2 separate regions of the Homo sapiens genome follow, and region 2 is linked to region 1. Evidence: promoter capture Hi-C in 16 types of primary human blood cells and fetal thymus (Javierre and others, 2016). All regions are on one chromosome and are shown on one strand. The core of a region is centred on a gene start or on the middle of the fragment in contact, and the rest is flanking DNA. Distances in the headings are between cores, read along the strand shown.

Evidence for each region. Contacts are between HindIII fragments. The CHiCAGO score rates a contact against its expected background, and 5 or more counts as called.
Region 2: a contact is called between the fragment with the promoter of UTP6 here and a fragment that was not itself captured in region 1, in 2 of 17 cell types (neutrophils and naive B cells). The highest score is 9.8, in neutrophils.

What each region holds. Positions count from the first base shown.
Region 1 is chr17:31,477,324-31,484,460 of GRCh38, forward strand. All of the region lies in intron 3 of RAB11FIP4 (RAB11 family interacting protein 4), which reads left to right. Among named protein-coding and RNA genes, the nearest start is that of MIR4724, 54 kb to the right of the region's middle. The HindIII fragment of the contact is 1,602 bases long and covers 2,506-4,107 here.
Region 2 is chr17:31,899,328-31,906,021 of GRCh38, forward strand. It overlaps UTP6 (UTP6 small subunit processome component), which reads right to left and starts at 2,381. Exons shown (of 19, transcript NM_018428.3): 1 at 2,209-2,381; 2 at 319-403. The coding sequence starts at 2,300. RefSeq lists enhancers at 1,856-2,005, 2,049-2,640, 2,326-2,375. The HindIII fragment of the contact is 12,725 bases long and covers 1-6,694 here.

The sequences.
Region 1 (7,137 bases), core at 2,057-4,556:
GTGAGGAGGGGGCACTTACCTGGTGGGGGGCTCAGTGCTCCCCTGTGGGGCTGAGGAAGGAGCCTGGGCTTGGGGAGAAGCTGGGTGCTCCCCGCCCACCCTCCTTGACCCATCAGATATAGATGAGAAGCCACGGCTGGGAGGGTGCGAAGCTGACAGCAGAGCCCCAGGTCCCCAGACAAGCTGTGGGGAGAAGAGCAGCGCGGGCGTCAGAGGCGCCTGGACAGGCAGCCGGCAGGTCCACAGCAAGGCTGCACCTTGTTCTTCCTTGGTCTCTGGGTGGCCAGCACTAGGTCTGGCCTGCGGTTTCTGCTCAGTGATTCTTGTTTGAGTAAATGAATGACGGGGTGAATGAATGAATGGTCTTGGTTCTATGATGGTTACTTTGGGGAAGTTATTTTATTATACAAAACCGAGCCTCTCTTTTTTACATAGGATAACGGCTAGGTGCACAGTCTCTGGAGCCAGGCTGCCTGGGTTTGACTCCTGGCTCTCAACTTACTAGCTGTATGTCCTTGAGTAACCTCTCTGAGCCTCAGTTTCCCCATCTGTAAAATGGGGATAATACCTGCCTCGTAGGGTTGTCGGGAGGATTAAATGAGCTCATATCATGTGAAGCACTAGAACGGAGCTTGTATATATTAAGTGCTATGTGGCCATTTGCTGTTAATACTTTTTTTTTTTTTTTTTTGAGACAGAGTCTCTGTCACCCAGGCTGGAGTGCAGTGGCTAGATCTCGGCTCACTGCAACCTCCACCTCCTGGGTTCAAGCGATTCCCCTGCCTCAGCTTCCTGAGTAGCTGGGATTATAGGCGACCACCACCACACCTGGCTAATTTTTGTATTTTTAGTAGAGACGGGGTTTCACTATGTTGGCCAGGCTGGTCTCGAACTCTTGACCTCAAATGATTCACCCGCCTTGGTCTCCCAAAGTGCTGGGATTACAGGCATGAGCCACCGTGCCTGGCCAGCTGTAAATACCTTTAAGATGAACATAACGTCTGCCTTCCGCGCGTGTTGGGAGCCTGGTGCATTGTTTGCCCAGGTGTGCTCTTCTCAGAACACTGATCCCTTGTGTTGTTAAATGTTAAATAAGAAGGGTCCTGTCCAAGCCCAGTTGCCTTAAGGAAGCCTGGGGTTAAAAGCTAGGGAGGCTTCTCTCCTGCAGAGGTGCCTGTGACATCTTCAAGAGGGAGTGAAGAATTTCACCGGCTGATTTGACCACAGATCAATTTCTTGCTATCAGAGTGGGATGGGGTTTCCACAAAACACGTCTTTGAAGACAACAAATACTGCTTCCTTCCCTCCCTCCCTGGAGCCCTGGCCTCATACTGCTTAGCTTATCTGGTAGCAGCCAGGGAAATGGCAGGATGCATCTCCCTGGGCTTAGAACTGGGGCAGGAGGCAGCAGCCAAGTCAACAGCAGGTAGTGGCCAGTCCTCAGCTCTAAGCCAGCAGGTAGGACTGCAGAGGTGCATGTGGCAAATCATAGACACCTGATGTGGGCTGCCACTGACTGAGACACTGCTGAGCTGGACAGCAGACACCTGCAACCCAAGGATGATGAAGAGGAACTTGAGGCCTTTAATTGCTCATGGTCTTCAATCATCCTTACCAATTAGTTTCTGCTGCTTCCCAGGCAATTCCGGTTGCTGTAAGTAAGCCAGTGATGCAACAAGAGAGGCAGAAGGGAGTCCTGAACGTGGGCCAGATCTGGGTACAAATCTTGTCTCTGCCACCACTTAATCCTCTTGAGCCTCAGTTTCCTTATTTGTTTCATGAGTGCAGTAACATCTACTCTACAAGATTGTTGGATTAAATTAAGAAATGAAGTGGCTGGCACATAGTACATAGCTGTTATCAACAATAGGCTGCAGGGAAATGTTCTCTCCTTGGTTTCAGGGCCCTTGTCCAAGGTTCCCATTAGGTAGAGGAATTGTTTCTTCAGAGTTGAGATCTGATGTGTCTGGGAAGAGGGCAGCCTGACTTGAGAAGGTCTCTCACCTTTCAAATGCCCATCTCAGGAACTTCAGAAAAGGCTTCCGCTAATTCAAAAATCAAGTCCTCAGCTTTCCATTGTCTGTGGGTGAGGGATTCTCAGTCCCATTCAGGGCCCTAACCATTCCCCAGGTGATTACTGTGTGCCAGACATGTTAGGAGCTTAAGTCCAAAGACACCAGGGGCATGGACCCTGTCCTCAGGAATTGCAGAATGGTAGGGGACCTGACAGGAGGCCAATCCTGACAATTCAGTGTGTTCCTCTTAGTAACACAGCTTGTGATTGAGGCATAGACATCATGAAGCCAAGGAATAATTTATTATCACTGGAGAAGACAGGGAAGGCATCACCTGGGAAATCATACCTGGGTGGAGTTTTGAAGGATGAATAGGAGTTTGCCTGGTGGACAGAGGAGGCCAAAAGTTTGGTACTAAAAACAGCATACCTACTCTACTCCCAACCACCTCCCTTTTCTAGGATTGGTGTGGGTCCATCTGCCGTTAGCAAGCTTTGTGACTATAGGTAAGTCATTTCTTCTCTCTCGGCCTGTTTCCCATTGGTGAAATGGGATCCCTTCCAGCTTTAATGCATTGTGATTTCATGTTTATATAGGCCTAGATAATTGTTTTAAAGTCCTCATATTTGCAAAACACGGGGCAAAAGTCTTTGACTTTTTCTCTTCTAACGCATCTCCCAGTCTTACAAAGTTGGTTGTACTCTCTCCATTTGACTGAGGAGGAAACTGAGGCTCGGTGAAGTTACTTGCCTTTAGCCAATATGTGGCAGATCCAGGCCTCAAATCCAGGTCTTCTGGCCCTGAGTTCCACTGTTTCTCCACTGCTCCACACGGCCTCTCACCCCACAAGCCCTCGGCGGCTGCACATAAATGATCCTTGACAGATTACTGCCTCACTCAGGCCCCTGTCAGATGTTACTGCTGACAGTTGGGGAGGAGGAGGAGCGAGAACATTGTGTGCCAGGATGCCAGGCCTCGGCCCTGAAGGAGGAGCTTATGAGAAAGAGGCAAGCAGGGAGGCAGCAGGTAGGACATTGAGCATGGTCAAGAAAGGCTGTTTTGGCCAGAGAGTGGATAAATGATAAAGTCTGGAGTAGCAGGCAAGTGCACAGCCACCCTTTCCTGAAGCAAAAATTGGTGCCTAAATCCATAGTGAAAATAGTCCCCCTGGCCGGGTGCGGTGGCTCACGCCTGTAATCCCACCACTTTGAGGCCGAGGTGGGTGGATCGCTTTAGGTCAGGAGATCGAGACCACCCTGGCCAACATGGTGAAACCCTCTCTCTACTAAAAATAAAAAAATTAGCTGGGTGTGGTGGCACGTGCCTGTGATCCCAGCTACTCGGGAGGCTGAGGCACGAGTATCGCTTGAACCCAGGAGGCAGAGGTTGCAGTGAGCCGAGATCACGCCACTGCACTCCAGCCTGGCGACAGAGCCAGACTCCAGACTCCGTCTCAAAAAAAAAAAAAAAAAAAAAAAGAAAGAAAATAGTCTCCCTGCCTCCAGGGTCTCTCTATGCCCATACCCTGCTTTGTTTTTCTTCAGAGCACATATTATATATGTCACTCATTAATTTATTGTTTCATCATCTGACTTCTCCCACTAAAATGTCAGCTCCACAAGAATCAACCAAGACTTGGTACTGATCAAGGCTGTGTCTACAACACCTAGAACAGAGCCTGGCACTAACTGTTTTGAACAAATGAAGGAATTAATGAAGGAATGACTGAAAGAATGAAGGAATGAATGAAAGAATGAAGGAATGAATTAAAGAATGAATGAAGGAATCAAAGAACAAACGATCCCTTCACCTGTGATCATGTCAGCACCCACTGTTGTCAGCAAGCCTTTAGCAAAGCAGTTCCCAAACTGCTGCATCAGAATCACTGGGATCTTTAAAAACTGCCAACACCTGGCTTCCACCGTGACATTCGGATTAGGTTGCCATGGGGTATGTTATTGACATTTTTTTAGGTTCAAGTGATTCCAAGCGTTTTTTAAGTTCTTCAAGTGATCCTGATGTGCGGTGCAGTTTAGGAACCACTGCTTTAAAGGGTTGTCCACTCCTGAAAAAGGGCAGTCCACTCCTACAAAGCTTCTAGCTGAGTTAATAGCCAATCAGAGACATGGGTAGTGGCACGCAGGGTGGGACCTCTGTGCTGCCCAAGTCTGGGAGGAGGTGGGGAGGGTGAGGTGTTTGGGGAAAGGAGAGTTGTTTTTGCTGCCTGGGTTTTGCTGTCTGGGTAACTCTGATGTTACCAAGAGTAGAGGAAAACGAAGTTTTTCTCCTTGCTCTCACCCAATTCAAGTCAAAAGAACACCTTGCTGGACTTCCTCCTCCCCTGCCACCTCCTCTTCTTGGATGACTGAATGAGTCAGGGGGCTTGTTTGTTAGGGAGGAAACACTGGTTTTCTCACCATTTTCCCCCTTTCGTTGAGCTTGAATGAGTAAGAAAACCCATTGTTTATACATGCACAGGTTGACACAAATAGAGCTTGGAGCTTCTGAAGACTCAACCTGGGCTCCAGAGTCAATAAGACCAGGTCCCACCCCGTCTGCACAGCATCCAGCCAGATGTTACAAGAGAACCCAGCCCCGGGGGCAGGCTGGTGAAATCATCCCGGCCAGTGGACAGTCACCAACACCGGAGTGTTTGCCAAGGGAAACACCTTGTTTCCACAGTCCAAGATCCTCTCCTGGGCTGGCACAGAGTTGCAGAATTGGAAGAGACCTAAAGATGTGCTGTCCAGCTAAAAGCTCTTCCAGGGGAGGAGTCTGAGGCCCAAAAAGTTAGGGAGAGCCCAGAACCCAGGCCTCCTGCATCTTCACTGGGTTTGGTGGGAAGAGGCAGAGGAAGGAGTGGTCAGAGAAGATGCCAGCTTAGTGCAGACCCCTAGACACATCCCCACTGGCGAGAGAGGGCTTTTGGATCCAAGAGTCATTCCCATTTTTTTTCTAAATAAAAAATTGGGGGCCAGGTGCGGTGGCTCACGCCTGTAATCCCAGCACTTTGGGAGGCCGAGGCAGGCAGATCACTTGAGGCCAGTTCAAGACTAGCCTGGCCAACATAGCAAAACCCCATCTCTACTAAAAATACAAAAAGTTAGCTAAGTGTGGTGGCATATGCCTGTAATCTCAGTTACTCAGGAGGCGGAGGCACAAGAATCACCTGAACCCAGGAGACAGAGGTTGCAGTGAGCAAAGATCGCACCACTGCACTCCAGCTTGGGCGACAGAGGGAGACTCTAAAAGAAAAAAAAAGAAAAAAAAAAGAAAAGAAAAAAAATTAGGAATGACTTTCCTTTGGGGTCAAGAGGCCTCTGCAGTCTCAGAGTCCTGCCTATTTGCTTGGTAGTCCCTTCCCTAAGCCACTGCTTAAGTCATCAAATACTGAATTTACCACCTGGGATGAAAGCTGAGATTTAAGAGTTGTAGCTGAACTTCCTGAGCGTGGAGTCAATGGACCTCTGAGAGAGAGGTGAGAGAGGACAAGTACTTGTGGTAAAGTCCTAGCCAGCTGCCAGGGGGGCTTTTCCACACATAGAGCCCCAGCTGGGCAGAAATAATGTCCTCTGGCCGGGGGCAGTGGCTCACACCCATAATCCCAGCACTTTGGGAGGCCGAGGCGGGCGGATCACGGGATCAGGAGTTCGAGGCTATCCTGACCAACATGGTGAAACCCCGTCTCTACTAAAAATACAAAAATTAGCCAGGCGTGGTGTCATGCGCCTATAGTCCCAGCTACTCAGGAGGCTGAGGCAGGAGAATCGCTTGAACCCTGGAGGCGGAGTTTGCAGTGAGCCGAGATCATGCCATTGCATTCCAGCCCGGGTGACAGAGTGAGACTGCATCTCAAAAAAAAAAAAAAAAAAAAAAAAAAAAGTAAAGAAAGAATGTCCTCTGTGTGTGCGTTGACAGAATCAAGCCCTGCTAAGATGGACCAGGTTTGACTGATGCTCACAGTCCTGATTAATGACTGGTGTCCACCTTGGAGAGCACTAGACTGAGAGTAATGCAACCTGGCTCTACTCCTGGCTCCACCACTAACTGAGTGTGCTACTTGTGAGGGGAGATGCCATTTCCCACCTCTGGGGCTCATTCCCCTGTCTGGGAAATGGTTATACTATACCAGTGATTTTAAATATTTTTAAAGCCATAGAACCCTTTATTCACATGAAGTTTCATACAGAAGACAGCATGTACAGCAGACAGAAGTGGAGCTATTTTTGTGGTTCCCCTGGAGCACATCTTCCCTTTTGCGAAGTCTCCACAGAACCCTGAGGGTTCCAACAAACTCAGTTTGAGAACAACTTGCCAGACTTTTTGTTTTAGCTCCAATACTATTTATGTCAGCTGTTGTTTGTTCACTTGGCTAATATTGGTTGGCATCAGTTGCTTGGCTAATGTTAACATTAGGTAATGTTCAGAAGGGTTCTTTTCTCAAAATAATGATCATGAAACCATATATATATATATTTAGCCAGTCGTTCCACATGGCCCCAAACATGTGCAGAATGTTGCTTCTTTACACCATCCAATGTTGAGCTAACTCTTGCATGGTGGCAGCGAAAGAAAATAGACACAGAGAGGCCAGGCATGGTGGCTCATGCCTGTAATCCCAGCATTTTGGGAAGCTGAGGTGGGGGGATTGCTTGAGCCCAGGAGTTTGAGGCTACAGTGAGCTATGATTGTGCCACGGCACTTCAGCCTAGGCAACAGAGCAAGATCTTATCTTTTTTTTTTTTTTTTTTTGAGACAGTCTTCCTCTGTCACCTAGGCTGGAGTGCAGTGGCACAATCTTGGCTCACTGCAACCTCCACCTCTCAGGTTCAAGTGATTCTCCTGCCTCAGCCTCCAGAGTGTCTGGGATTACAAGCGCTCGCCACTACACCCAGCTAATTTTTGTATTTTTAGCAGAGACAGGGTTTCGTCACGTTGGCCAGGCTGGTCTCGAATTCCTGACCTCAGGTGATCTGCCCGCCTCGGCCTCCCAAAGTGCTGGGATTACAGGAGTGAGCCACTGCGCCGGGCCTGACATTGTCTCTTTAAAAAAAAAAAGGAACCTCACAGGTAATGCTAAGAGACCAGGGTACCTAACTCAAGACCTTCCTTCCCCACATCC
Region 2 (6,694 bases), core at 1,131-3,630, 420 kb after region 1:
CGGGCACTGTGGTTCACACCTGTAAGCCCAGCACTTTGAGAGGCCAAGGTGGGTGGATCCCTTGAGATCAGCCTGGGCAATGTGGCAAAACCCAGTCTCTACCAAAAAATTAGCCAGGCATGGTGGCATGCATCTATGGTCCCAGCTACCCAGGAGGCTGAGGTAGGAGAATCGCTTGAGCCTGGAGGGCAGAGGTTGCAGTGAGCAGAGATCACACCATTCACACCACTGCACTCCAACCTGGGTGACAGAGTGAGATGCCATCTCACCAAAAAACAAAAAAGAAAAAAAGAAAGAAATTATTAATTACACACTTACTTGAACATAATTGATAAAGTCTTCCTTGAAAAGGGTTCTTCTCTGGATTTTGTACTCTAGATCGGAAGCCTTCTTAATGATAGCCCTGAGGAGAAAGCCATTTAAACTTCACTTGAAAACTGCAAAAATTAAACGTTTAAGTTTATTTTGAATATATTTAAAACATGTTTTTCAAAATACGAAATTCCTAGAGTTATCTTTCATAAGAAAGTATTATCGGCCGGACACAGTGGCTCATGCCTGGAATCCCAGCACTTTGGGAGGCTGAGGCGGGTAGATCAAGAGGTCAAGAGACTGAGACCACCCTGGTCAACATGGTAAAACTGCATCTCTACTAAAAATACAAAAATTAGCTGGGCGTGGTGGTGCGTGCCTGTAGTCCCAGCTACTCGGGAGACTGAGGCAGGAAAATTGCTTGAACCTGGAAGGCGGAGGTTGCAGTAAGCCGAGATCGCGCCACTGCCCTCTGGCCTGGCGACAGAGCAAGACTCCATCTCAAAAAAAAAAAGTATTCTCTTACACAATTACTTTTGTGTTCTTAAGGGTTCATTTTTAAACTTTCAGGAAAATCATCTTAATCAACTCCCAAAACCAATGACATTCCCACCAGCAAAGCAAATACAATTAAGAACTTTATACCATTTATGTATGGTGTTTTTTTTGTTTGTTTTTTTCTCGCTCTGTCGCCCAGGCTGGAGTGCAGTGGCATGATCTTGGCTCACTACAACCTCGGCCTCCCGAGTTCAAGCGATTCTCCTGCCTCAGACTCCCGAGTAGCTGGGACTACAGGCGCTCACCACCACGCTCAGCTAATTTTTGTATTTTTAGTAGAGACGGGGTTTCACCATATTGGCCAGGCTGGTCTCGAACTCCTGACCTCGTGATCCACCCACCTCGGCCTCCCAAAGTGCTGGGATTACAGGCGTGAGCCACAGCGCCTGGCTGGTATTAATAAAGACTTCTTTTACTCCAAGTTCAGGTCACTTAAATTTTAATAATAAATTTCTTTCCGAAATTCCTCTTATTTCTGAGTTCTCAACATGTAAATTTTTTTAAAAATCTAAATTGCGTCTGCCTTAAAAGACTTATTACTACGAAGGACTTACGGGAGAAGATTCAGAGTCCTTAGCTAAGGAATGAACATATGACAAATATATATTAGGAGAATTTAATGCAAGATGTGCAAGACAGGTGTCTTTAGTAATGGTAACATTAACCTTAACTGAGCACTTTCTAAGCGTCCACACTGCTTTGTTTTGTGTTTCATTAACGAATGCTTACTTTGAAGCTCTGAGTCACATTACTACATTCAGACGTTGCAAAACAAAGCAACAGTCACAGAAACCATTAAAAACTATTAAACATAATTTTAACACGCTACTGAATGTCTACCATGTGCCAGGCGCTGTAGTTAGGCTCTGGAGTAGCATATGAAACTGATTTCAATGGTCCCCACCTTCAAGTCTAGTTAGGAATTTATCCACTCCCCCTGGGCTCTCACAGCACTCTGTTCCCATCCCTACAGCAGTACAAGGTACTACAATCAACTTACAGTACACTGTTATCAAAATATTTAATTTGTCTGTCTCCCCCACCACACTCTGCCCAATTAGCTCCTAATGAGCAGGAATCCTGGGTTTATCACCTTTACAGCCCTAAGACCCGGCTCCATGAAGGGCTGTCAAAACGTCTGATGGGTAAGTAGACGGACGGATTACCTTGCAACGAATGAAAAATTAATTCTGGACATCACCGAAAACGAGAAATGGGCTTCCACCACGTTAGGAAAAGTAAACACAGGTCGAGCGTCCCCACATCTAGCCCCTGCCACACACTCCCAACCTCCCCTCAGGCCGCCTCAGCTCTTCCCTCTCCCCAACCCTCTCTCACTTAATCTCCGCATGACTGAACAGTCCAATGCGCTCCAGCTGTTCCAATTCCGGGAGCCGATCTTCTATGCGTTCCTGAATTATCTCTGCCATGAGGTCCGAGGTCTACAACCCCGCGGGTAGCTTCTCAACAGCGAACACGAGCAGGAAGCTCCCGGTTTCAGGTTCGGAGACCCAGCCCTACCACCGACGCGTCCGGACGTAACGTGCTCCCTAGGTCCCGCCTTTTCCGCTTCCGCCACCTCCTACTTAGGGGAAGGCCCTTCGGCTTCTACAGCCACCGTCCCCTCCCTGTGGCCGATTGTGGGATTGCAGCGAGAACCCGCCCTGGTCTTGGGCAGGACGACTCTAGCGGACAGGAGTTGAGGGGCGGGGCTAGACGGGAGGGAGGGGTTAAGTGCGCGCGCCGCTAGACTTGGACAGCCATCAGGAAAAGCGCCTCCAGGTGTAGAGAGGTGGGCTGCTCAAGCCTGAAAGGGACACGAGATGCATTTTCTTCAGAATATTGTCTCCCATCCCACGTCCTGACTTCCCAACACCAAGAACAACAACAAAAAAAAAAGCAAAGGAGGAGGATATTGTACAATTAAACATTTTTGAAAGCCGGTCGCGGTGGCTCATGCCTGTAATCCCAGCAGTTTAGGAGGCCGAGGCGGGCAGATCACCTGAAGTCAGGAGTTCGAGACCATCCTGGCTAACATGATGAAACCCCGTTTCTACTAAAAATGCAAAAAAATTAACTGGGCGTGCTGGCACGCGCCTGTAATCCCAGCTACTCGGGAGGCTGAGGCAGGAGAATCGCTTGAACCTGGGAGGCCGAGATCGCGCCATTGCACTCCAGCTTGGGCAACAAGAGTGAAACTCCGTCTCTAAATAAATAAATAAATAAAATAGAATTGTTTATTATTTAAATCAATATCCTGTCTTTGTAAGCAATAGCTTTCAAAATATATGTCCCTAGGTGAATATCAGACACTATAAATTCTTTTTAGAAAAGGAGATTTTTGTATTGAAAAGTTTGAGAATTACCAAAATAAATCACTAAGGTATAGACACCCTCCTTAAACCATTGCCCAAGCAACTTAGCATTTCTAAGAGAAACACCAGGCAACACAGCTTGGAGGCAATATTGCTGGTATAGTTAGTAAACCTCAAATGATAACTACATGGTTCAGTTCTTTTTTAGTTCTGGATATAAAAAAGCCAAAGCAGCAGTTCTTGCTAAATCTGCTTATTTCAACATTCACATTAGCACCTGGATCCTGTGTGTGATTTATGAAAGGAGAATGGGCTCAGCAAAACCATGTTCCACCTCTGTGCCTTGCATTTCTTTCTTTCCTTTCACATTTTACCCACTCATCTCAGAACTGAGACGAGGGTTGGCTTGTGCTACACCATTTCTTGAATCCTTCAGCTGTAAGACATGTCAGAAGTGGAAGGAAATCACGAATGTAAGACAAAGATAGAATTTATTTGTAAAAGTAAAATCTCTGGGGCTGTGTTAACAGTAAGAGTGGAGATGACACTAGATAGTAAACTCCATATGGGCAGGGAATTTTTTCCTTTTTGACTGGCTAGATACTCTACAGCTTATAGCAGTGCCTACCATATAATAAGTACTCAGTTAATAAATGCATGACACTAAGAAAAGGTACTTGCTAAATTTCTTTAGGTACAAGGAAGTCAGCAAGTTATGACAGACTGTAATCATTTCAAAGTAAATTTGATAGAGACCTTCATAAATTAACCATGATTTTTATTTTATTTTATTTTATTTATTTATTTAGAGACAGAGTCTCGCTCTGTCACCAGGCTGGAGTGCAGTGGCGCGATCTCGGCTCACCACAACCTCGACTCCCCTGGTTCAAAGGATTCTCCTGCCTCAGCCGCCCGAGTAGCTGGGACTACAGGCACGTGCCACCACACCCAATTAATTTTTGTGTTTTTCGTACATACAGGTTTTCATCATGTTGGCCAGGATGGTCTCAATCTCCTGACCTCATGATCCACCCGCCTCAGCATCCCAAAGTGCTGGGACTCCAGGCGTGAGCCAACGCGCCCGCCCAATTTTTAAATCAAACTAACTATAAATACGCTCCTCCTTTATATTGTTTTGTTTTGTTTTGTTGTTCTTTTTAAGACCGAGCCTCGCTGGCCAGGCACTGTGGCTCACACCTGTCATCACAGCACTTTGGGAGGCCGAGGCCACGGATAACCTGAGGTCAGGAATTCAAGACCAGCGTGGCCAACATGGAGAAACCCCGTCTCCACTAAAAATACAAAAAAATTAGCTGGGCCTGGTGGCCTCTCTCTGTTGCCTAATGGGGAGTGCAGTGGTGCGCTCTCGGCTCACTGCAACCTCCACCTCCTGGGTTCAAGCGATCCCCCGAGTAGCTGGGATGACAGGCGTGAGCCACCATGCCCGGCCTAATTACGTTTTTGTTTTGTTTTGAGACAGGGTCTTACTATATTACCCAGGCTGGAGTGCAGTGGTGTGACCACAGCTCACTGCAGCCTCAACCTCCTGAGCTCCAGCAATGCTCCCACCCCCGCCTCCCAAGTAGCTGGGACTACATGTGTGCCCCACCGCACCTGGCTAATTTTCCTTTTTTCTTTTTTGTAGAGACAGGGGTCTCACTATGTTGCCGAGGATGGTGTTTTTGTTTTTGTAAATAGAGACAGGGTCTCACTGTATTGTCACCATGGTCTTGAACTCCTGGCCTCAAGTGATCATCTTGTTTCCCCTTCTCAAAATTCTGGGATTACAGGCATAAGCCAGCACGCCCAGCGATCCTCCCTTATTTTGAAATTTAGCTTTTTTTTTTTTGAGATGGAGTTTTGCTCTTGTTGCCCAGGCTGGAGTGTAGTGGCGTGATCTTGGCTCACTGCAACCTCAGCCTCCCAGATTCTAGTGATTCTCCTGCCTCAGCCTCCCGAGTAGCTGGGATTACAGGCGCCCACCACCACGACCAGCTAATTATTGTCTTTTTAGTAGAGACGGAGTTTCACTATGTTGGCTAAGCTGGTCTCGAACTCCTAACCTCAGGTGATCCGCCCACCTCGGCCTCCCAAAGTGCTGGGATTACAGGCATGAGCCACCACGCCTGGCCAAAATTTAGCGTTTATGTATATATTCTTGTTGTTGTTGTTGTTGTTGTTGTTGAGACGGAGTGTCAGTTTGTTGCCCAGGCTGGAGGGCAGTGGCATGATCTCGGCTCACTGCAACCCCCGCCTTCCCGTTTAAACGATTCTCCTGCCTCAGCCACCTGAGTAGCTGGGACTACAGGCGCACGCCACCACGCCCAGCTAATTTTTGTATTTTTGGTAGAGACGGGGTTTCACCATGTTGGCCAGGCTGGTCTGGAACTCCTGACCTTGTGATCGATCCACCCGCCTCCACCTCCCAAAGTGCTGGGATGTGAGCCACCCCGCCCTGCCTAGCTTTTATATTTACCTTCAAGAATTATTATGATGGGCCAGGCGCAGTGGCTCACATCTGTAATCCCAGCACTTTGGGAGGCCGAGGTGGGTGGATCACAAGGTCAGGAGTTCGAGACCAGCCTGGCCAACATGGTGAAACCTCCGTCTCTACCAAAAATACAAAAATTAGCCGGGCATGGTGGTGCGTGCCTGTAGTCCCAGCTACTCGGGAGGCTGAGGCAGGAGAATCGCTTGAACCCGGGAGATGGAGGTTGCAGTGAGCCAAGATCACGCCACTGCACTCCAGCCTGGGTGACAGACCGACACTCTGTCCCAAAAAAGAAAGAATTATTATGATGTTTTGGAGGCCAAGGCAGGTGGATCACCTGAGGTCAGGAGTTCACAACCAGCATGGCCAACATGGTGAAATACCCCCCCACTAAAAATACAAAAATTAGCTAGACATGGTGGCGGGAATCCCAGCTACTCTGGAGGCTGAGGCAGGAAAATTGCTAGAACCTGGGTGGCGGAAGTTGTAGTGAGCCATGATCACACCACTACACTCCAGCCTGGGAGACAGAGCGAGACTCCGTCTCAAAAAAAAAAAAAAATACTTGGGAGGCTAAAGCACAAGAATCGCTTGAACCCGGGAGGCAGAGACTGCAGTGAGTCGAGATCGTGCCACTACACTCCAGCCTGGGCAACAGAATGAGAATCTGTCTCAAAAAAAAAAAGAATTATTATGACAGAAATGACAAAGCCTTCTTTTCACTTCTGCATCTCATAATAATAGCTGTCATTGGCCCGGCGCAGTGGCTCACGCCTGTAATCCCAGCACTTTGGGAGGCCAAGGTTGGCAGATCACAATGTCAGAAGTTCAAGACCAGCATGGCCAGCATGGTGAAACCCCATGACTCTGTCTCAAAAAAAAAAAAAAAAGCTGTCATTATGTAGGGCTTATTGTGTGCCCAGCTACTATGTGCACTGTTCTAAGTCCTTTATGTTTTTTTGTTTTTTTTTTTGTGAGCCGAAGTTTCGCTCTTGTTGCCCAGGCTGGAGCACAATGG